Regions from separate parts of the Homo sapiens genome. Here regions 1, 3 and 4 are each linked to region 2. Evidence: promoter capture Hi-C in 16 types of primary human blood cells and fetal thymus (Javierre and others, 2016). All regions are on one chromosome and are shown on one strand. The core of a region is centred on a gene start or on the middle of the fragment in contact, and the rest is flanking DNA. Distances in the headings are between cores, read along the strand shown. Region 1 holds the start of H2AC15 (H2A clustered histone 15). Region 2 holds the start of TRH-GTG1-5 (tRNA-His (anticodon GTG) 1-5). Region 3 holds the start of H2BC8 (H2B clustered histone 8). Region 4 holds the start of H3C8 (H3 clustered histone 8).

Region 1 (5,809 bases), core at 1,627-4,126, 680 kb after region 2:
ACAATGATATATCACACTTGTATATTTTATTTTGCTTAATACATAAGTTTGCATGTCAATGTTTTGATTATGAGTACATTGATTTGAGTTTGCATAAATAACACCCAAAATTATAATAATTATAAAGCAAAAGTTACTTTACAAGCTGTTTAGCTTAAAGAATTTTACTTCTGGAACTCACGAACTCTGAAAAATATTACTTAGCTAGCTTTCATGATTAAATGGTGGTTCTTGGGAGAAACAGAATCAATGGAATAATTTTATTATCAACTTCAATGATCATAACAGCATATTTTATTTAAAAACTTATTTTAATTTCAAAAATCTTACAGGCCTTCTATGGAGCTGTATCATTTACTCTATATTGAGAAACAATTATTGAAAATTTATACACATAAATAACACAGATGACATTTTAAAAGGGAACAAATGAATTAATTCATTGAAATCAGGATGGAGTCCTCAACATCAAATAATAAATTTTTTTAAACAATGTGATATTTATGATTTTTGTGATTGCTGTTTTATTCCAAGAAATACTAGTTGTATGTGATTGCAATCAAGACTTAAATCTAGGAAATAAAAATGTGTGAAGAGACTCAAAAATTAATGTATTTCAATGGACTGGAGATCCTGTAGAAATTCATTTTCATTAACATGTCTGTATGAGGAAAACAGTAGCTTATATAAGTTTAGGTGGAGAGGAATAGAAGGCCCTCTCTATAGCTAGGAGGACTTGGTGATCTGAGAAGGAAAGGAGTGATCTTGGTGAAAGAAAGGAAGCAGGAAAAACTGACAGGAACAGGAGTATATGACCATGATATAATAAAAAACCTGACTTACAATGTCCTTCATTCATACTGTTTTTAAATAACACGTTCTAAAGTAATCTCACACCCTAACCCCAACCCTTTCCCATCATTTATATAAACAGTCCATTATGACATGTATTCTTTGCCCAAGCCAACTTGAAGCTCCTTTTGGATAGAGACTTTATGTATCTGGATTAATATTGTATTCCCATTTAGGAGAGTGCCTGGCACACCATAGATGCTCAGAAAGATTCAATTGAACTCGAATAGGTAGGCCAAACACACACGGGGTCCTAAATTGTGCAGAAGGGTCAGATACCTAAATTTTGCTTCCATGGTCTTATGAAGTATAAACTAAAAGCCCAAGTAAGGAGCAAAGGTTAGTTTACCAATTTTATCTCTGGAACCCAGGTACACTGAAAAGTATTATTTAGCTAGCTTTCAGTCCTCTGTAATACAGAAAGTAAATATCTGACACTAGGTTCATTTGAAACACTCTTGCTCTGTCACACAAGCTGGACTGCAGTGGTGCAATCATAGCTCATTGCAGCCTCGAACTCCTGGGCTCAAGTGATCCTTCTGGTCTCAGCCTCCCGAGTAGCTAGGACTACAGGCTATGAGACGCCAGGCACGGTTAGTTATTTTACTTTTGTAAAGATCAGGCTGGCTTCGAACTCCAAGGCTCTAGCGGTCCTTCCGCCTCGGCTTCCCAAAGCGGTTCTGTTTACCGGATGGTGCCAAACAGTTCCAGGCTCTTGGTGCCCGGTAGAAATTGGACGACACACACACAGATAGCAAAGCAAAGCAGCAAAAGTTTAGTAAACAGAGTATTACACTCTCGGGGGTGGGAGAGAGCGGACTGACCTCTGCGAGGTGAGATCAGCGTCAGCTTGCTGTAGTTTGAGTCATTTTATGTGTGTGCGTGCGTGTGTGTATGTTTTCTGTTCCCAGTGCTGCCTAATCTATAGCCAGCATCTGCCCTTTTATTGATAGGTTTGTTGCTTACTTTGTCCTCTGTGGCTTGTGCCTCTATCTTATAATCTTAAATATATGCATGATATGTAGCCCATATGCATGAACCTTAAGTAGCTGATTATCATACGGGCTTTTGTTAAGGATACTTTTCCTCTCTAATACGCATGCCCATCTCTGAAGAGCTGCCTCTTAAACTGGTTTGTTCCAGATCTTGCCGGCCACGAGGTCCTTGCTCACATTATCTCTTTTGTTTCGGCTGCAAAAGGTTCACTGCTTGTTATCTCGCTTCTTGTTCACCCGCCCATCTACCTTACTTCTGCCCTTTGCTTTTACTTATTCTGCCCTCTAACTTTCAGCTCCCTTTGTTATTCTCTTGCCTCACTTTTCTTATTGTTTCAGCTGTATTGCAGGCGCGAGCTGCCGCGCCTAAATTTCTTGATGTACCGTAAACATTTCAATGTCTACTTTCTATCTCAAAACAATGTGGTGTAAAAGCCGTTTAGTTTTGCTTCATCTCCATACAGCATTCCAGTGCCATTGCAAAATGACTCGACTATCAGATAAAACTGAACACAGCTCTACTTGGTGAAAAAGTAGGTGGCTCTGAAAAGAACCTTTTTGGTTTGGACCGAGGTATGAGTAATGAACTGCTCCAGCCCCGCTACTTGCCCTTGGCCTTGTGGTGGCTCTCAGTTTTCTTAGGCAGCAGCACGGCCTGGATATTGGGCAGGACACCACCCTGGGCGATGGTCACTTTACCAAGCAGCTTGTTGAGCTCCTCGTCGTTGCGGATGGCCAGCTGCAAGTGGCGCGGGATGATGCGGGTCTTCTTGTTGTCGCGGGCCGCGTTGCCAGCCAGTTCCAGGATCTCGGCGGTTAGGTACTCCAACACCGCCGCCAGGTACACCGGCGCTCCGGCACCGACCCGCTCAGCGTAGTTGCCCTTGCGGAGCAGTCGGTGCACTCGGCCCACTGGGAACTGAAGACCCGCCCTTGAAGAACGGGTCTTAGCCTTGGCGCGAGCTTTGCCGCCCTGCTTGCCACGTCCCGACATGACGTAAAAAATTCAATCAGTAACGTTCCTGAGACTGACGTAACGCTAAAGCTCCGCTACTTATAGTCAACAGAGGCACGAAAACTAAGCTGTGCTATTGGCTAACATTACAGTTTCGCTTTAACCAATGGGATTGCGGTTTTGAAAAACACTTATTTTGATTGGACAAAGTTAATATACGTTTCCAGGACTCACCACTGGTTAAACGCACAACTTCATTCTCTACCCCACTTGCGTTAAGAAGCAGTGAATAAGCGGTAGGTTGACAGAGCTACCGTCTTCCTGTTTTTTTCCTCCAATTTTCCGGCAGTTACTCCCAGTCATGCCCGAGCCCTCAAAGTCCGCTCCTGCCCCGAAGAAAGGCTCCAAGAAGGCAGTGACAAAGGCCCAGAAGAAGGACGGCAAGAAGCGCAAGCGCAGCCGCAAGGAGAGCTACTCCGTGTACGTGTACAAGGTGCTGAAGCAGGTCCACCCCGACACCGGTATCTCGTCCAAGGCCATGGGCATCATGAACTCCTTCGTCAATGACATCTTCGAGCGCATCGCCGGCGAGGCTTCCCGCCTGGCGCATTACAACAAGCGCTCGACCATCACCTCCAGGGAGATCCAGACGGCCGTGCGCCTGCTGCTGCCAGGGGAGCTGGCCAAGCACGCGGTGTCGGAGGGCACCAAGGCCGTCACCAAGTACACCAGTTCCAAGTGAGCCCGCCCACCGCGGAACGTTCGGTCAGTCTCGGCCCACACCCCAAAGGCTCTTTTCAGAGCCACTCAGTCTTCCCAAAGAGAACTGGCACTCACTGTTCTTACAGCAGGTATTTCTTACTTGCTACAAAGACGATTTCCAAGATTCCTTTAGCCTTGTTAGAAACTAATTTTGGCTCAAGCCTCTAATCCCGGTTCGGGAAACCGAAGCGGGTGGCTCACCTGAGGTTAGAAGTTCGAGACGAGCCTAGCCAACATGGTGAAACCCGTCTCTACTAAAAGTACAAAAAAATAGCTGGGCGTGGTGGCGGACGCCTGTAATCCCAGCTACCCGGGAAGCTGAGGCAGGAGAATCGCTTGAACCCGGCAGATGGAGGTTGCAGTGAGCCGAGATCGGGCCATTGCACCCCAGCCTGGGCAGTAAGAGCGAAACTCTGTCTCAAAAAAGAAAGAAAAAGAAAAGAAATTAATTAGCACTGCAGTGTACTGCATGTTGCAGCAACGCTTGAGACAATTTTATATCTGAAGAAGGATGAGGTTTATCATCAGACAAACCTAGTAAAGGGAAAATTCAGTTCCTGTTGACCCCAAAGAAAATATAATACTTAAGTGTCACTGGTAAAATATCCACAGTGCTTCCGGCGCTCTGTCCCTAAACTTCATGTGTACTTTAGTAATGAAGCAGTTGGCACACACACAAACGTACAAATCGACTTGTTTGTTTTGAGAGTGGTGCTGTTTCTCCTCCCTTGTCCCCAGTTTGGATTTGCTAAATATTAAGATAGAAAGGCAGTAGAAAAAAGTTTGAACCCAGTTTACAGCACCGTACACGTCAATCGGGCTGAGTTGATGTCAATGGCCAATCCCGACACTGCGAGGGCAGTTTGAAACTTGGCCACCGTTTTCTCTGGTGAGTGTTCTAGTTGGGAAAATTCTTGGCAGTGCAGGTTTTTTGGAGGAATCTTGCTGTCTTACTCATTCCCATAATTCTCTTGTGTGGAATTCCTATTTATGAACATAGTTTCTATTCCCTACTTTTTCTGTTAGGGTCTGCTCCATGTTTTCTTGTCTGTGTCACTTGCGTTTACTGTATCTCTAGTAATTGGAAGAAATGTTAAAAGAAAAAAAAATAGAGGAGGAGAAGGGCTGTTCTCCATTGTTTTCCCCCACCCCCAACTCAGGAAATCAAAATGAGTGTCTTCATTTTAAACACTTAGGAGTGGCATATTTAAAAGTATTTTGGTCTTTGCCAAGAATCAGTGTGGGAACTCTTCCACATCAAATTGTATTTGCTGAAGGTTTTTGATAATATTTTTTATCCAGTAAGTGTACTCCAGTGACCCAACCATTCGATTCCTAGCTGTTTACATGAAAGAATATTTTGCACACATGCAACAGGAGACATATGAGAATGGAAAAAATGCCATTTTTAATAGATAAAAATACTAGAGGCAACTACATGTTCATGGTCAAAATAATGCATTTATTGAGGTACACACAGTACCTGGTTGAATTTTAGAAATGTAAGTCTCAGAAGGTTCATATATAATAACATTTTTTTTAAACTCAGAAGTAAAACCATGGCTGGGCATGGTGGCTCATGCCTGTAATCCTAGCACTTTGGGAGGCTGAGATGGGAGGTTTGCTTAAGCTCAGGAGTTCAAGACCAGCCTGGGCAGTATGGTGAGACCCTACCTCTTAAAATAAATAAATAAATAAATAAATAAATAAATAAATAAATAAATAAATAAAATGAAAATAAAACCAAATTATACATTGTTGAAGTGTATATAGAAGCGCTTATACAGAATAAGTATACACAAGTGCGTGATAATGAAAACTTTTAAGAGAGTTTTTAAAATACCTGGCACTGGCTATCTTAGCGATAAAGGCAAGACATGGGATGGGGAAAAACACAGAGGTAAATACAAGTTGTCGTCAATATTCCAGTTTTGGGTTAGATGTTTTATCATGGGTTTTGATATAATTTGATTTAAACTTTATTTTTATTTTTATTTTTTTGAGATAGAGTCTCACCGTTTCGCCCAGGCTGGAGTGCAATGGCGCGATCTCGGCTCATTACAACCCTCGCCTCCCAGGTTTAAGCAATTCTCCTGCCTCAGCCTCCCGAGTAGCTGGGTTTACAGGAGCCCGCCACCACACCCAGCTAATTTTTTGTATCTTTAGTAGAGATGGGGTTTCACCATGTTGGCCAGGCTGGTCTTGAACTCCTGACCTCATGATCCACCCTCCTCGGCCTCCCAAA
Region 2 (5,763 bases), core at 681-3,180:
GAAATCCAATGTATCAAATAGTGTTGAGAAATCATATAAGTTGAGGACTAACATAGCCATTTCAACTAGTGAAATGTAAAAGATCAGTTTAAGTGGAGTGTTGAAGAAGAAAGCAAGATGAAGGAGTGTAATAAAGAAATGAGATGAAAGAAGATTTGGGTTTGATGACACTTCAAGGAAATATGGCTATAAACTGAAAGACAGTACTATCAATAGCAGAAAGGAAAAGTGAAAGCAAGAGAACAATTCTTTCAGATGAAAGAAATAAAAGCAGCTTTGAATGCTGATGCGAAAGATCCTATAGAGATCAAATAGAATTTTATTTAATAATACAGGAGAAAGAGGAAAATATTGCTGGAACTATGCCCTTGAAAGAAAGAGGGCTTTTAATTATTTCTTACAGAAAATTTAGAAATTCAGAAGTAGAAGAGTGCATGGCATTGGTAAAGGTAGAACTGGTAGGTTCAACTGTGCCAGCCTGTCTCTTATTCTTCCCAGAATCACTGTAGTGAATGTGTCAGATGAAATCTTCAAAATGGCCTTCCAAAATAAGCACAAGGAAAGAGGCCTTTTTCTAGGCCTATGACATCAAAGATACAGCTTTTCCCTCTTTTTATGGAGAAGCACATGCAGATCAACCCAATTTCCAAAAACATCCCAGCAGAAAATGCTGAAAAGCACTTTCATTCACAGCAGCTTTCTAAATGGGGTTGGGGAAGGCCCTAAGCAAAGGAAAAGGAAAGATCTAACTCAAAGAGACTTGAGACAGAGGCAGCTTGCATTTCCTTCTTACTGGCTGCATTTTCTTTGATGGAGCTCATGTCTTTGAGACTGAGAAAGCCCTTAGGTCACTTCCCTGATCAAACAAATTAATGTTAGGGCTGGGTGCGGTGGCTCATGCCTGTAATCCCAGCACTTTGGGTGGCGGAGGTGGGCGGATCATAAGGTCAGGAGATCGAGATCATCCTGTCTGAAACAGTGAAAACCCGTCTCTACTAAAAATACAAAAAATTAGCCAGTCGTGGTGTCACGCGCCTGTAGTCCCAGCTGCTCAAGAGGCTGAGGCAGGAGAATCACTTGAACCCAGGAGGCGGAGGTTGCAGTGAGCCAAGATCGCACCACTGCCCTCCAGCCTGGGCGACAGAGCGAGACTCCATCTCAAAAAATAAAATAAAATAAAATAATAATAATAATAATAATAATAATAATAATAATAACAATGATGCTAGGAAACAGGTAATTCTTCATTCAGTAAACCTATTAGTAATTAGAATACTTTTGTGTAATCCAGACAGAGGAAAGGAGATAAAGAAAATTTTAGGAAATTAAGCACATTATTTTGGCTCTGCTGAGAAGCTTTATTATGGATAGCTGCAGGGGTAATTTTGAACTCCCTTCATTTTTAAATTTATTATTATTATTTTAGAGGGAGGATCTTGCTCTGTAGCCCAGGCTGCAGTGCAGAGGCACAATCATAGCTCACTGCAACCTCAAACTCCTGGATTCAAGTGATCCTCCTGCCTCAGCCTCCCTTGTAATGGGGACTACAGGCATGCACCTCTGTGCCTGGTTAAATTTTTTTATTTTTTTTGTAGAGACAGGGTCTCACTATGTTGCCCAAACTTGATTCAAATTCATGGCCTCAAGCAATACTCCTGTCTTGACCTCCCAACCTTTCTTTAAATTATTACCAATCTTTTCCCATCAAAGGTCAAAAGGCAAGCCTGCTGAACTAGGCCAGATGCTGCTGGGAGAAGTTGCTTTCATAGAGCTTTGGATGGTAGTCTCTGCCCACCCATTCATTCATTCTGCAGCCAAACTATATTGATAAAGAACCTACCAAATGGGGAGCCCTAGTGATAGATTATTGAACAAAATAGATATTCCTCGTCTTGGGGCATATGGAGCGGGAGGATGGAGGCTGACATTAATCAAATAACTCTGGTATTATACATTACAAACTGATATAAGAGCACTAAAGGAAAAGTGAAAAAGAATCAAGTGGCCGGGCATGATGGCTCACGCCTGTAATCCCAGCACTTTGGGAGCCCGAGGCGGGTGGATCACTTGAAGTCAGGAGTTATAGATCAGCCTGGCCAACATGGTGAAACCCCCTCTCTAATAAAAATACAAAAATTAGCCCTGCGTAGTAGCTTACGCCTGTAATCCCAGCTACTCGGGAGGCTGAGGCAGGAGAATCGCTTGAACCCGGGAGGTGGAGGTTGCAATGAGTCGAGATTGTGTCATTGCCCTCCAGCCTGGGCAACAGAGCGAGACTCTGAGAAAAAAAAAAAGAAGAAGAAAGAGAAAGAAAGAAAGAAAAGGAAGGAAGGAAGAAAGAGAATGAGAGAGAGAGAAAGAAAGAAGGAAGGAAAGAAGAAAAGAAAAGAAAGAGAGAGGGAAGGAGGGAGGGAGAGAGGAAGGAAGGAAGGAGGGAAAGAAGGGAGGGAAGGAAAAAAAAAAAACCAAGGAACCATGTGTTGCGTGGAGACGGGAGGTCAAGAAAAGCTTCCTTGATTTGAAAAGCTTTCTTGAGTTGAAGCTGAAGCATTAAACAAATTTAACCAGGTAAAGAGAAGAGGCCGGGCGCGGTGGCTCACTCCTGTAATCCTAGCGCTTTGGGAAGCCGAGAGGGGCGGATCAGTTGAGTTCAGGAGTTTAAGACCAGAATGATTTTACAGAAAGAAAATCATTTGGTATCAAGGGGAAAACACGACCAGGACCTTGACTCTAGAGGCTACGTTCCTAAAACAGCAAGCGGGGCAGGAGGGAAGTCCCACGGAGCTTTGGAGCCACAGGAGAGGCACTTTTATCTCCCTCTTCTGGCAAACTAGGTATGAAAGGGAGAAAGAAATTTCACTCTGAGGTGCGAGCGCCGCCGGACATTTCCTGACGGCTCAGGTGGGCAGGCTGAGTGCGCGAGCGCCTCACTGGCTTCTCATAGGTACCTGGGTCAGGACGAAGCCACATAGTTCCTCGTGATGAGAAACTCACTTCTGGCACCTGTCGAGATGCCAGATTCCATGCCAAGCCCCCGAAGATTCTGACTAGTTTGGCAAAAAATGGGATCTGGCAGGTCCACTTCAAAGCAGCGCCCTCTTCCTTTTGTTGCCAAAGATCTGAGGACCACACTGCTAAACTGAGCAAGAAACATGCGTGGGTTGGAGATAGAAGTGAGAATAATGAGTTTACAAGCACAGTATTACCAACCCCCAAAAACAACCACCACGCTGGGAAAATTCCATATAATGAAACTTAATGTGTTACCTTTGGCTTCTTTGCCATAAGCAAAATATTGGGGACGGGGAGTGGATAAGGAAGTAAACTGGGTAGGTGTGTAAATAAGGACGAAAGACTGCACCATTCTTTAGATGACAAAAACAGACGTTTCTGGGAAATAAGCAAAGGAAGAGCCCCACAAGCAGCGGCCTCTGGTGGCGTGCCGTGATCGTATAGTGGTTAGTACTCTGCGTTGTGGCCGCAGCAACCTCGGTTCGAATCCGAGTCACGGCAGTACCTTGATGTCGCCTCAATTTCTCAACGTACTGAGCAGTACCTTGACGTCGCCTCAATTTTTCAACATACTGGAGTGGAGACAGTCTCGGAAAAACCCTTGCAAAATTGAATTGACTTACGATCTAATCTGTACACAAAAAACACTAGTATTCATCATGGTGCCCCAACCAGTCAGCCAAGCAGAGAGTGTCTACGCTTGTTGCCTTGTCTTTTTTTTCCCCTCTCCAAAGATTCTCTTCCCAACCCTACCCAAGCCCTACAGTCTTGTTGGCATTGGCTGTATGTGAAGAAACTGAGGTAATTTTTTTTTAATGGAAAACTTTTACTTTCAAACACTGGTAGGCATGAGGAAAGGACTGTTCAAAAGGGGATCCAGGTTTGTTGTGGAGATCTTTCTTAAAACACAAAAGACAAATTATTAATCACGCGTTTCTAAGTATCCTAGCTGGACCAATGCTGAAAAACTGTAACCTTTGATCATCTGGAGAAAATTAAAGAAATTTGAGTAATTGAAGGAATTTGGGTGGGGGGGAATAATGGCCCAGAAGAACAGCCCCCATTTCTAGCCCGTTCAGTTTCTAGAATGAGTTCTAAAGAGCCAAGTAGACTGGGTGAGGCGGGAGTGGAGGAGAGCTGATCTGAGATACGGAGGTGGCTGGAAAGAAGTAGTTGGTGCTACCTAGGACCAGTAGGAGGTGGCTGGAGACAGGCAGATCCCCAGAGGCGCTTCCATGAGCCCAGTTCTAGTTAGTAGCACAGCACTCTGAGAACACATTAATGGCACTTCGTCCCTCCTGGCCCTGGTGGAAGGTTAGTATTCAAACAGGTGTGGTGGCTCATGCCTATAATCCCAGCACTTTGGGAGGCCGAGGCGGGCAGATCACCTGAGGTCGGGAGTTCGAGACCAGCATGGCCAACATGGTGAAACCCCGTCTCTACTAAAAATACAAAAATTAGCTTGGCATAGTGGCATAGGCCTGTAGTCCCAGCTATTCGGAAGGCTAAGGCACGAGAATTGCCTGAACCCAGGCAGTGGAAGTTGCAGTAAGCCAAGATCACACCACTGCACTCCAGCCTGAGTGACAGAGTAAGACTCGGTCTCAAAAAAAAAGAATACTCATACTTTTAGCAACTTATCAAAAATTTCAGCAAAAGAGATTTGTTCTTTCCTTCTTGGGGCTAAAATAGCCCCCATTTCTTCTCCAACTGTCCATCCAGCTGACATGGATTCTGAAACTCAGAGATATTGTAATTGAGCTGAGCTGCCTTATACTGTAGGATATCATCTCTCCAACAGGTCAGGTTCTAGGCCTCTTCTCAGTAATTTAATAGCATTTGTAGTGGTTATTCATGTTCACTTGTATCACATTCTACTTCAATTTTCTTTTTAGTCTATTTTATCTTGACTCAGTCTTACAAGAGTGAAGACAGGGATCAAGTATGTATTGACCCTAAAGGATCAGTTCTTGTCAATTATTTTGCCACAAGTGAATGATAAAACTGCTAAAGCAATAAACATTTTGATCTTGCAATTCTCCAGAACACATTTTCTCAGATCTTACTGGCCTGAGTAGCAGAAATCTATGGACTCTGACTCAGAGGCTATCTCTTAGTGAGAGAGCTAGGGTCCTAGATCTATTACAGAATAAAATTGTAGTGACAAGTGAGTAATAGGGCTCAATAAAACCCATGCTGTATGATTTGCTCGAAAAGTAGAGAGCTTGCTTGGCGTGTACCATATGATACTCAGTGCAAAGCACATGTTTATCTTAGAGGTGTGAAGTTCTCTGGTTCACAATAATGTTTTGCAGCTTTGAGTGAGCATTGCTAGAAATCTGGTATAAACAGGGGAATTGTGAGATTAAAAGCTTGCATTTTATGAATGCACTAATATTGGTATGGAAGTATCTTACACAGTCTGCCAACCACATTTTCAGAAAGAAAACTGTTTTACTCTACCTATGGCATTCATGGTCTTGAAATGACTTTTTAATATTTCTATGTTTTATCATTCTCATCTCTCCATGGAAATTAATGAAAGTTACCACCTTCTAAGATTGTTCTAAAGATTTAAGGGTGGTAAATGCATGATGGCACTAGCTCAGTAAGGTACAAACAAACAAACAAAATAATAAAATAAGCCATTTTTGGAGCTAAATAAATAAATATCATTGCTACTTAAGTGGTGGAAGGCCTTCATGCAGTAGTAATATTGCAAAGACTGGTACCAGACTCAGCATCTATTTA
Region 3 (5,528 bases), core at 2,398-4,897, 940 kb before region 2:
TATGTGTGTGTGTGTGTGTGTGTGTGTGTGTGTGTGTGACATCATGTAAATAAGAATACACTACTTGGCAACTTGGATTTACCCCATACAATGCCATGAGCATATTTTATGTCGTTTTTTTTAAAGCATTCTTTTTAACAGCTGCATAATATTCCATTAGGGATAAAACCTAGTTTTAGGCAAAGTCCAACTCTTCAACATTAGTATTTCCAGTTGTTAGCCACAGTAAACAAAAATATGGACAATATTAACAAAATTAGAAGTTAAAATCAATGAGTTTGTATATTTTTAAATATTTGCAGAAAAGAAAAGGGAGTAGTCTGGAATGGGGACTAGATTTCAAACTTGGATGAGTAAGTGAAGCCAGGTAGAGTATCATAAGGTCTGTCTTGGTTGTGCTGAGTTTCAGATGCCTGTGAAATACTTATTTCATGTACTATTTAGAAGCCTAATCACCATAATTTTTGATATTGACTGAATTGCCTGACTGAAATCCAAGTCAGCCCACAATTCAAACATTGAAGTCCAATACCAACTACTTGAAAATGTGACTATTTGGAGATAAGGTCTTTAAAGGTGTAAAATGAGGTTTTAAGGGTAGGTCCTAATCTATTCTGACTGCTGTCCTTATAAGATGATATTAAAACACAACCCACACACACACAGGGAAGACCAGAGAGGGGAAAACCCAAGGAGAGTGGCCCCAGAAAAAATCAATCATGCTCACTGGTTTGATCTTGAACTTGTAGCCTTCAGAATTGTGACAAAATTAATTTTTTTAAGCCACACAGTCTTTGGTAGTTTGTTTTGGCAGCCCTAGCGAACACACTTCTCAAACATTTTCATTCTGGGAATACTTTTCTCCACACCTTTTCTATGTTATGCTAGCTTTTGTACTCCACAAAGACAAACACACAGAACACAGATGCACACCCACCCCTACTGTATGTTGTAGGGGAGGAAAGAGCGTTTCCTTTTACCCATCTTATGTTCATTGGCTGGGGCCCTGAAACAAAATACAGATTAACAACAGAAAAATATACACTTTATTTTTATTTTGATTTATTTATTTATTTTTGAGACGGAGTCTTGCTCTGTCGCCCATGCTGGAGTGCAGTTGCCCGATCTTGGCTCACGGCAAGCTCCACCTCCCGGCTTCATGGCATTCTCCTGCCGCAGTCTCCCGAGTAGCTGGGACTACAGGTGCCCGCCACCACACCCGGCTAATTTTTTTCAATTTTCAGTAGAGACGGGGTTTCACCGTGTTAGCCAGGATGGTCTCGATCTCCTGACCTCGTGATCCGCCCGCCTCGGCCTCCCAAAGTGCTGGGATTACAGGCGTGAGCCGGCGTGAGCCACCGCGCCCGGCCAAGAGAAAAACATTCACATTTAATATGAAGTTTTACATGACATAAGGAAATAAGGACCTGAAGAAGGGCTTAAACCTGAGTGTGTTTGCACTAGGTTTGATGAAGAGAGTCATGCAGAAATATAACAAGACAAAAATAATATGAGCTAAGGATAATAAACAAGGAGAAATCTAGCAAGGTTTATTTGTTCAGATTCCTCGCATACTCTGCAAGACTCCCAGGAGGGTCTTAAGACCTGCTTCAGAGGAAGGTCATACGAACATTCTTGTCTATGTTGTTCTACTAATGTCTTAGAATATTTACTATGTCAAGGCGCCATACTTTGGAGTACTATGTTGTCAGAAACCTGAGGTTGCTCATGGAGTACTATGGAGTAGTGACCTTTTTTTTTTTTTTGGTCCCATTTTAGAAATTTGATTAATGAGTATAAACTAATGGTTTCTATGTTTGAGACGGAGTTTCGTTCTTGTTGTCCAGGCTGGAATGAAATGGCGGGATCTTGGCTCACTGCAACCCCCGCCTCCCGGTTTCAAGCGTTTCTCCTGCCTCAGTCTCCGAAGTAGCTGGGGTAACATAGGCATGCGCCACCACGCCCGGCTAATTTTGTTATTTTTAGTAGATACGGGGTTTCACCATGTGGGTCAGGCTGTTTTTGAACTCCTGACCTCAAGTGATCCACCAGCCTCGCCTCCCAAAATGCTGGGATTACAGGCGAGAGCCACTGCGCCCAGCCAGCCAAAACTGTAATTTTTTTTTTTTTTTTTTTTTTTTTTTTTTTATGAGATGGAATCTAGCTCTTTCGCCCAGGATGGAGTGCAGTGGCGCGATCTCTGATCACTGCAACCTCCGCCTCCCGGGTTCAAGTGACTCTCCAGCCTCAGCTTCCAGAGTAGCTGAAACTACAGGTGAGTGCCACCACGCCCGGCTAATTTTGTTTGTATTTTTTTAGTAGAGACAGGGTTTCACAGTGTTAGCCAGGATGGTCTCGACCTCCTGACCTCGTGATCCGCCCGTCTCGGCCTCCCAAAGTGATGGGATTAGAGGCGTGAGCCACCGCGCACGGCGGAAAACGAGATTTTTTAGATCAACTTTACATTGCCAATGCCCATGGTATTCCCTCCACAACAAACTCCACAAGAGTGCTCAGAAAAGTCAAACTTGTTATCAGGTGATCTTTAGGGACCCAAAGACTACTCTTCCTACCCTTTCCAGTGTTGCCCAGGCTGGAATTGCACTAGCGTATTCACATGTTCCTGCAGTCTCTAGCCCGAGAGTTTAAGCTATCCTACCACCTCAGCCTACCGAGTAAATGATAGTACAGACGCAAGCCGTCACACCTGGTTAGCTTCATTTTTTTGCAGAGACGAGTTCTATGTTGCCCAGGCAAATCTGTTAACTCCTGAGCTGAAGAAAGCCTCATGCATCGACCTCCCAAAGTGCTAGGATTACAGGATCTTGCCAACACAGAACAGGAGTATCTCCTGATCAATTTTTTTTGAGACGAAGCCTCGCCTTTGTCGCCCAGGCTAGAATGCAAAAGCGCCATGTCTTTTCACTGCAACCTTTGCTTGCTGGGTTTAAGTGATTCTCCTGCGGCAGCCTCCCGAGTCTCTGGGATGACACGCGACTGCCCCACGCCCGGCTAATATTTGTATTTTTAGTAGAAACGAGATTTAACCACGTTAGCCAAACTGGTCTCGATCCGCACGCCTCGGCCTCCCAAAGTGCTGGGATTACAAAATCGGAAAAATTATTCCCTAGAAAACGGTGAAATTCAATATTAAAGCTCTTTATGTGAGACTTGAGTGGCTCTGAAAAGAGCCTTTGAGTTTTAAAGCACCTAAGCACACATTTACTTGGAGCTTGTATACTTGGTGACAGCCTTGGTACCTTCGGACACTGCGTGCTTGGCCAGCTCTCCGGGAAGCAGCAGACGCACGGCGGTCTGGATCTCCCTGGAGGTAATGGTCGAGCGCTTGTTGTAGTGGGCCAGACGGGAAGCCTCGCCTGCGATGCGTTCGAAGATGTCGTTAACGAAGGAATTCATGATGCCCATGGCCTTGGATGAGATGCCAGTATCGGGGTGAACCTGTTTTAGCACCTTGTACACATACACGGAGTAGCTCTCCTTACGACTGCGCTTGCGCTTCTTGCCATCCTTCTTCTGCGCCTTGGTCACAGCCTTCTTGGAACCCTTCTTCGGAGCAGGAGCTGACTTAGCTGGTTCAGGCATGCTGTCAGAAAACAATAACAGCAGTGAGAATGAACGCACTTAAATAAAAGCTCGTGTCTAGAGTCTCTCCTTTTATAGGCCTTTCATGCAAATAAAGAATTCAAAATATCCAGCTCTGATTGGGCAATGTGTTAGTGACGCATACATGTAAAATAGCCTTCACCTTATTTCCTTTCTAATTGGTTGGCTCGTCAAAGAACAATTTTAACCAATCAAATTGCGCCTTTCACAATTCTACCGATGACTATAACTAGCTTCTTATTCCTCCATCGAGCCCATTCTTTTTCTTTATTCAGTGGATTGTTAGTTCTTCTGCTGTTAGGAAGCCACTATGTCTGGACGTGGAAAGCAAGGCGGCAAAGCTCGGGCAAAAGCTAAAACGCGTTCTTCCAGGGCCGGTCTTCAGTTTCCAGTTGGCCGTGTGCACCGCCTCCTCCGCAAAGGCAACTACTCCGAACGAGTCGGGGCCGGCGCTCCAGTGTACCTGGCAGCGGTGCTGGAATATCTGACGGCCGAGATCTTAGAGCTAGCTGGCAACGCGGCTCGCGACAATAAGAAGACCCGCATCATCCCGCGCCACCTGCAGCTAGCCATCCGCAACGACGAGGAGCTAAATAAGCTTCTAGGTCGCGTGACCATCGCGCAGGGCGGTGTCCTGCCCAACATCCAGGCCGTATTGCTGCCTAAGAAGACGGAGAGCCACCATAAGGCCAAGGGCAAGTGAAATGATTACTAGTCAAATCCGTCAGTGATCCCGAGTCCCAGAAACCAAAGGCTCTTTTCAGAGCCACCCACCTTTTCTGTAAAGTGCTGGAATACACATACGATGCCTGAAATCTCAATGTTCACTGTCCTAATTTTTAACGAACGCTTCTGACGTTACTGGTCAGTTCTTTATTGAAATCCTTGCTCACATTTCATGCACTAATTTATCTTACTGGTGTTTCTTTGCAGTAAAAATGCGTTTATAAAGGTATACAAGAATAGAAACCGAGGTTGTGACACCAAGGTTTCACTGCGTTATTTTGTGTATAGGTCCATGCTGTGTATACAAATTTATCATTAATACACAGGCTGTTTATTCATGTGCACTTGTCAGAAAAGGGTGAAATATTAATACAGAAACGAGAGAACAAAGAAGGATAGCTGCCCATTAGCATTTCAGGGCGGGCTTTTTAAGTTTTAAAGATGACTGCATTCCGGCTGGGCTCAGTGGCTCATGCCTGTAATCCCAACACTTTGGGAGGCCAAGGAGGGCGGATCATAGGGTCAGGAGTTCGAAATCAGCCTGCCCAACATAATGAAAGCCCGTCTCTACTAAACAAATACAAAAAGTAGCCGGGCGTGGTGGTGTGCATCTGTAGTCCCAGCAACTTGGGAGGCTGAGGCAGGAGAATCGCTTGACTCCGGGAGGCAGAGGCTGCAGTGAGCCGAGATCACGCTATTGCACTCCAGCCTGGGTAACAGAGCAAGACTACGTCTCAAAAAAAAAAAAAAAAAAAAAGACTACATTCCTCTAGTGAGAATTGTGTTTGTTGGATTTCTCTTTTCAAAAGGAGCAATTAACACAGTATTCTAAAATAAACACTAAACGAAACTAAGCAGTAACGGCCTGACGCCCTAGGTCAGACCTGTAATCCCAGCAATTTGAAAGACTAAGGCAGAAGAATCGCTTGAGCCCAGGAGATCAAGACCAGCCTGGGCAATAAAGCGAGACAGCCCCCTCACCTCCACAAAAAGTAAAAAGCCTGCCCTGCCCGGTGGCTCATGCCTATAATCCCAGCACTTTGGGAGGCCGAGATGGGCGGATCACTTGAGGTCAGGAGTTCGAGGCCAGCCTGGCCAACGTGGCAAAACCCTGTTTCTACTAAACATACAAAAAAATTAGCCAGGCATGGCGGTGGGCTCCTGAAATCCCAGCTACT
Region 4 (5,262 bases), core at 2,124-4,623, 890 kb before region 2:
GCATCATAATTTATTTTTGTTTTTATTTTTGAGATGGAGTCTCGCTCTGTCACCAGGCTGGAGTGTAGTGGCATGATCTTGGCTCACTACAACCTCCGCCTCCCAGGTTCAAGAGATTTTCCTACCTCAGCCTCCCCAGTAGCTGGGATTACAGGCGTGCACCACCAGGCCCGGTCCAGCTAATTTTTATATTTTTAGTAGAGATGGGGTTTCACCAAGTTGGCCAGGTTTGTCAAGAATTAACCTCATGTGATCCTCCCACATCGGCCTCCCAAAGTGCTGGGATTACAGGAGTGAGCCAAGGCACCTGGTCCATAATAAGGTGTTAAATAGCAGATAACATATATAAAATAGATGAAATGATATTGAAATTGTCATTGCAACATTGTAACTGAGACAAAGAGATCTGACCTAACCAACTCCATCTTGCTTCTAACCTTCAAGCTGTCCTTGTTCACTCCTGGGTGTAGGCTGAACTACCTTTGGGAGGAACTTAGTTTATAGTTTAAAACTAATATGATAACAGCCCTTTCCCAAAACAAACCTCCTTGCCTGGGGACTAGACTGCCTTTGTAGGACTAACAAATTACTCACAAGATTAGAAATTATGGTTTAGGGGTAGGTCGTAATGGCTCACGCCTGTAATCCCAACATTTTGGGAGGCGAAAGCGGGTGGATCACTTGAGGTCCAGAGTTCGAGACCAGCCTGGCCAATATGAGGAAACCTCGTCTCTACTAAAACTACAAAAATTGGCTGGGCATGGTGGCGCGCGCCTGTAATCCCAGCTGCTTGGGAGGCTGAACAGGAGAATCGCTCGAACCTGGGAGGCAGAGTTTACAGTCTCCATCCTGGGCAACGCAGTGAGACTGTCTCAAAGAAAAAAAAAAACACACACATTATGGTTTAGGAGTCCTGCAGCTGGAACCTACAAGATTCTGACCCCACGTAAACTGCTCCTAAGATCAGTGCTTGAGATATTTTGCAGACCTGATGGATCAGTTGGCCCCACCCAGATTGGTAAACTGACTCATCCGATCTTGTGGCCTCCACCCAGAAACTGACTCAGCCCAAGGAGACACCTTCAGCTCCCTATAATGACATCTCTGACCTGACCAATCAGGACTCCTGGTTCATCGGCTTCCCCCCCATCTGGAATGCTGGGGAGACTGATTTGAGTAACAATAAAACTACGGTCTCCCGCACAGCTGGCTCGGCGTGAATTACTTTCTCTATTGCAATTCCCTGCCTAGATAAATCAGCTTTGTCTAGGCAGTGGGCAAGGTGAACCCATTAGGCAGTTTCATTATTTGCTTTACAAAAATCAATAGATAAAACACTTAGCCAATGTTGTTATTGAAGCTGGATGAGAGGAACATAGGTTTTATTAAACTATTATCTCCTTTCCCATATATTCTGGAATGTCAAATAAGTTTTTAAAATAAAAGCAATATGTGAAAAAAAATGACAAGTTGCTAAATTAATAAAGATCATAAAGAAGGATCTGCTGAATACCCAAACAGGGCCTTGTGCTAATCTGTAAAGGAAGGGTTCTATATGAAAACATATCTTGGTTGTATGCCAAGCAGCCCAGGATGGTATGTGTTCCTCCTTGTAACATCCCTAAAAACCTGATACTTCCAATCACTAAAAGGACCTCGGTGGTTCAAAAAAACAAAAAACAAAACAAAACAAAAAAGAAAAAACTTACATTAGTGTTGCCCTAAGAAATTCTTATAAAAGCCAGGTGTTGAAAGATAGTCAAGCAAGCCAGAAAGTCTTTAGAGACCAGTATATTCTCTCTGAAGGCAAACTACAAGGAAACTGATTCAATTAGAAAACTGCTAAGCCTAGAGTCAAACCAGAGCTAATAAGAGTATTAAAATTTATGTAGCAAGGAGTCTCAGCCCCAGCTGTTAGAAGCACCTGAATTTTAATAATTACCATTCCCTGGGCCCACTCTAGATTGCTATTAGTCTCATTGAACCCCAGGTAAAGATTTTTCTAAAGCCTTCCCATGTGACTGTAATGTTACATTGAGAAAACTGATCTGTAAAGAAATCAAACTATTTTAGGGGATTGTTCTGTGCACTTGCTTTAGAGAACATTTCATAGAATATTTCATTCTGTAACATAAATAAACATGCATTTTGCAAAAGCTCACTCCTTGTAAGAGTTCACAGGCAGGATGCCTTTACTGATGAGACCAAAACCAACAACCTAGGCTTCCTAAATCAGTGTTCATGAGAATCATCTGAGGTATATGCAGATTGACTCCAGCCCTAGATGGGGATTGAAACAAGCTCCCATGTAATGCCCTGGGAGCTTCTAACAAGTTCCCACGTAATGCCCATGCTGCCAGTAATGTAGAGGCCAATCTGGCTTTCGTTTCTGCCGCCAATTTCTAATATTGAATTAAAAAATGGATCATTTCACAGAAAAACCAAGAACTGTTTAAAAAAAGGGGGAATTGTGGAAATAGCTGCTTCAGACACGAAAAAGCAGCAACCAAGGATATCCCTACCTACTCTCAACTGCCAATGCTCATACCTGTAAAGTTTTAAAAGGGATTAACCAGAAATACACAACGAAAAAAAATCCCATCTATAATGGGTGTAAGTAGACAACGCGACTAACGCTTGAGACAATGTATATAAACGCCCCCAGGTGGCCCCTTCCACTACCAAATCGAAGCTCCAAACCCCTAAAAGCCAGTTTAGAAAAGGACGCTGACAATCTGGCACTTTCGGGAAAAAGCACGGGAACAAATATAGCAAGCTTACCATTAACTTTAGCCAATCAAATGAGGACTTAAGTACTAAAACCAATGTTTAGTTTCAAAGATTTGATTAGTTAATCACAGCTATTTTCGGGTGAAAGTAGGCGGCTCTTAAAAGAGCCTTTTTAAGTTGGATAGAATTACTGCCCGGAAACCTCTACGCTCTCTCCCCACGAATGCGGCGAGCGAGCTGAATGTCCTTGGGCATGATAGTCACTCGCTTAGCATGGATGGCACACAGGTTGGTATCCTCAAAGAGCCCCACCAAGTAGGCCTCGCAGGCCTCCTGCAGGGCCATCACCGCGGAACTCTGAAAGCGCAGATCTGTCTTGAAGTCCTGAGCGATTTCTCGCACCAGGCGTTGGAAAGGCAACTTGCGGATCAGCAGCTCAGTCGACTTCTGATAGCGGCGAATCTCGCGCAGAGCCACGGTGCCGGGACGGTAGCGATGAGGTTTCTTCACGCCGCCGGTGGCCGGCGCGCTTTTCCGAGCCGCCTTAGTGGCCAGCTGCTTGCGCGGCGCTTTGCCACCGGTGGACTTGCGTGCAGTCTGCTTGGTGCGGGCCATCTCAGACTACCTGAAAGAAAAACTCAGCCACTTGGCAGAGTGGAAACTGCCCTTATATATACTCAGAAACATTCTAATTGGCCTTGTTGATTTTCAAAAGACCCGCGCAACAAAACCATTGGCTGAAGAGTCCAACGATGTGATTGGTGAATTACTGGAAAATCTGATTGGATGAATCACTTCATTTTTGAATCCTCTCTTCTCGGTTAGTCTGCGATCCAAGAACGTTAACTTCTTAAAGTTCTAATTCTGCGCTTCTCAAGCTGTAGTCCGTAAACGACTACTTTAAGACTTGGAAGACGCTAATTCTCATTCAGTAGATGTGTTGTGGGGCCAGATTCGGAGGACCACGTTTTGAGAAGTTTATCTTGTGCCGTTTTCTTGAGTCACCTGGACTGCTGCTAGCTGGAAACCTTTGACCATTATAAGGCAGGATTCCTGGGTGATGTACCTGGGAAATCACGAGCCAAGAAGTCACCGACATACAACAGTGAGCAACAAATGTTAACTGAATTCTATTTTGTCCCAAATGGTGTTTTGCTTCGGTTGAGAATTTTTAAGGCACAGGCTAATTTTAGGTTTTCCAACGACTCTTATCATTTACTTTTCGTTGGGTCCTATTGATGATATTCCAGGATACCACCCCCACTAGCCTCTTCTGCAGGATAACTTGAACACTGCAGTGGCCCTGTCCATCTAAACTTTACAAGGTTTTGTAAACGTTACTGAACTTGCTTCTTCCCGACTACATTAAAGCACTTACTTGAGATATTAAACATTTTCTCATTAGTCCTGTTTGCCTAGTCAGTCACTTGTATAGACAGGGCAACAGCACGGCCTGAATATTGGGCAGGACACCGCCCTGCGCGATAGTAACTTTGCCCAACAGCTTGTTGAGCTTCTCGTCGTGGATGGCGAGCTGCAGGCGTCGGGGGGTGACGCGGGTCTTCTTGTCTCGGGCCGCGTTGCCCGCCAACTCCAGGATCTTGGCGGTCAGGTACTCCAGCACCGCCTCCAGGTACACCGGCGCACCGGCCCGGACCCGCTTGGCGTAGTTGCCCTTGCGGAGGAGGCGGTGCACTCGGCCCACAGAAAACTGGAGACCAGCCCTGGAAGAGTGCGTTTTAGCCTTGGCGCGAGCTTTGCTGCCCTGCATTCCACATCCAGACGCAGTGAAGTATTTAAATACTTGTTTAGAAGAAGGAAAGTGATTGATTCTAGTAAAACGCAAGAGCTAAACTCTTATAATCTATATTCGGCAAAGTAGACTGTGCTATCTCCTGAACACAGATTTCAGCCAATCGAAAAGCAGGTGTTTAAAAAAATTTAAAAAAAAAAAAAAAAAAAAAACCACTTCTGACTTACATACTTATAGTTGAAAGGTCAAATTATGCAAGGTTGAGCTTCTGGGAGAGCCGATGAGATTTAGGAGTTCAGAAATGGCCTATCATATATTCAGACACTAAAAGAACCAATGAGAAACCGAAACTCAGCCAGCCTCATTTGCATATACACGAGGTAAATAATGAGGGCGTTTGGGCTCACCAGCATTTTCCTGTGGTCATTTGACGGTATCACTTCGGCTGCGAACATGCCTGAACCAGCTAAGTCAGCTCCCGCCCCGAAGAAGGGCTCCAAGAAGGCGGTGACCAAGGCACAGAAGAAGGATGGCAAGAAGCGCAAGCGCAGCCGCAAGGAGAGCTATTCCGTGTACGTGTACAAGGTGCTGAAGCAGGTCCACCCCGACACCGGCATCTCGTCCAAGGCTATGGGGATTATGAACTCCTTCGTCAACGACATTTTCGAGCGCATTGCAGGCGAGGCTTCCCGCCTGGCGCATTATAACAAGCGCTCGACCATCACTTCCAGGGAGATCCAAACGGCTGTGCGCCTGCTGCTACCCGGGGAGCTGGCCAA

The links. The method cuts DNA at HindIII sites, captures the fragments that hold promoters and counts their contacts. A CHiCAGO score of 5 or more calls a contact.
Region 1: the fragment with the promoter of H2AC15 here is called in contact with a fragment that was not itself captured in region 2 in 13 of 17 cell types (total CD4 T cells, naive CD4 T cells, naive B cells and 10 more); the score reaches 11.2 in total CD4 T cells.
Region 3: the fragment with the promoter of H2BC8 here is called in contact with a fragment that was not itself captured in region 2 in 1 of 17 cell types (total B cells); the score reaches 5.2 in total B cells.
Region 4: the fragment with the promoter of H3C8 here is called in contact with a fragment that was not itself captured in region 2 in 15 of 17 cell types (fetal thymus, non-activated CD4 T cells, activated CD4 T cells and 12 more); the score reaches 19.4 in fetal thymus.

What each region holds. Positions count from the first base shown.
Region 1 is chr6:27,835,499-27,841,307 of GRCh38, forward strand. H2AC15 (H2A clustered histone 15) reads right to left here and starts at 2,877. Exons shown (of 1, transcript NM_003510.3): 1 at 2,382-2,877. The coding sequence starts at 2,841. The coding sequence ends at 2,449. It overlaps H2BC15 (H2B clustered histone 15), which reads left to right and starts at 3,071. Exons shown (of 1, transcript NM_003520.4): 1 at 3,071-3,612. The coding sequence starts at 3,164. The coding sequence ends at 3,544. RefSeq lists enhancers at 1,007-1,944, 2,033-2,122, 2,193-2,242, 2,513-2,622, 2,693-2,782 and 3 more. The HindIII fragment of the contact is 16,643 bases long and covers 1-5,809 here.
Region 2 is chr6:27,154,686-27,160,448 of GRCh38, forward strand. TRH-GTG1-5 (tRNA-His (anticodon GTG) 1-5) reads left to right here and starts at 3,442; the gene lies at 3,442-3,513. RefSeq lists a silencer at 3,553-3,602. The HindIII fragment of the contact is 1,152 bases long and covers 1,355-2,506 here.
Region 3 is chr6:26,213,041-26,218,568 of GRCh38, forward strand. H2BC8 (H2B clustered histone 8) reads right to left here and starts at 3,648. Exons shown (of 1, transcript NM_003518.4): 1 at 3,160-3,648. The coding sequence starts at 3,603. The coding sequence ends at 3,223. It overlaps H2AC8 (H2A clustered histone 8), which reads left to right and starts at 3,881. Exons shown (of 1, transcript NM_021052.4): 1 at 3,881-4,397. The coding sequence starts at 3,935. The coding sequence ends at 4,327. RefSeq lists enhancers at 2,762-2,891, 2,942-3,031, 3,112-3,461, 3,373-4,024, 3,892-4,311 and 2 more. The HindIII fragment of the contact is 5,797 bases long and covers 1-4,220 here.
Region 4 is chr6:26,268,040-26,273,301 of GRCh38, forward strand. It overlaps H3C8 (H3 clustered histone 8), which reads right to left and starts at 3,374. Exons shown (of 1, transcript NM_003534.3): 1 at 2,879-3,374. The coding sequence starts at 3,345. The coding sequence ends at 2,935. It overlaps H2BC10 (H2B clustered histone 10), which reads left to right and starts at 4,892. Exons shown (of 1, transcript NM_003525.3): 1 at 4,892-5,262. The coding sequence starts at 4,937. It also overlaps the pseudogene H2AC10P. RefSeq lists enhancers at 906-1,502, 2,276-2,415, 4,143-4,482, 4,813-5,152, 5,223-5,262. The HindIII fragment of the contact is 12,049 bases long and covers 2,775-5,262 here.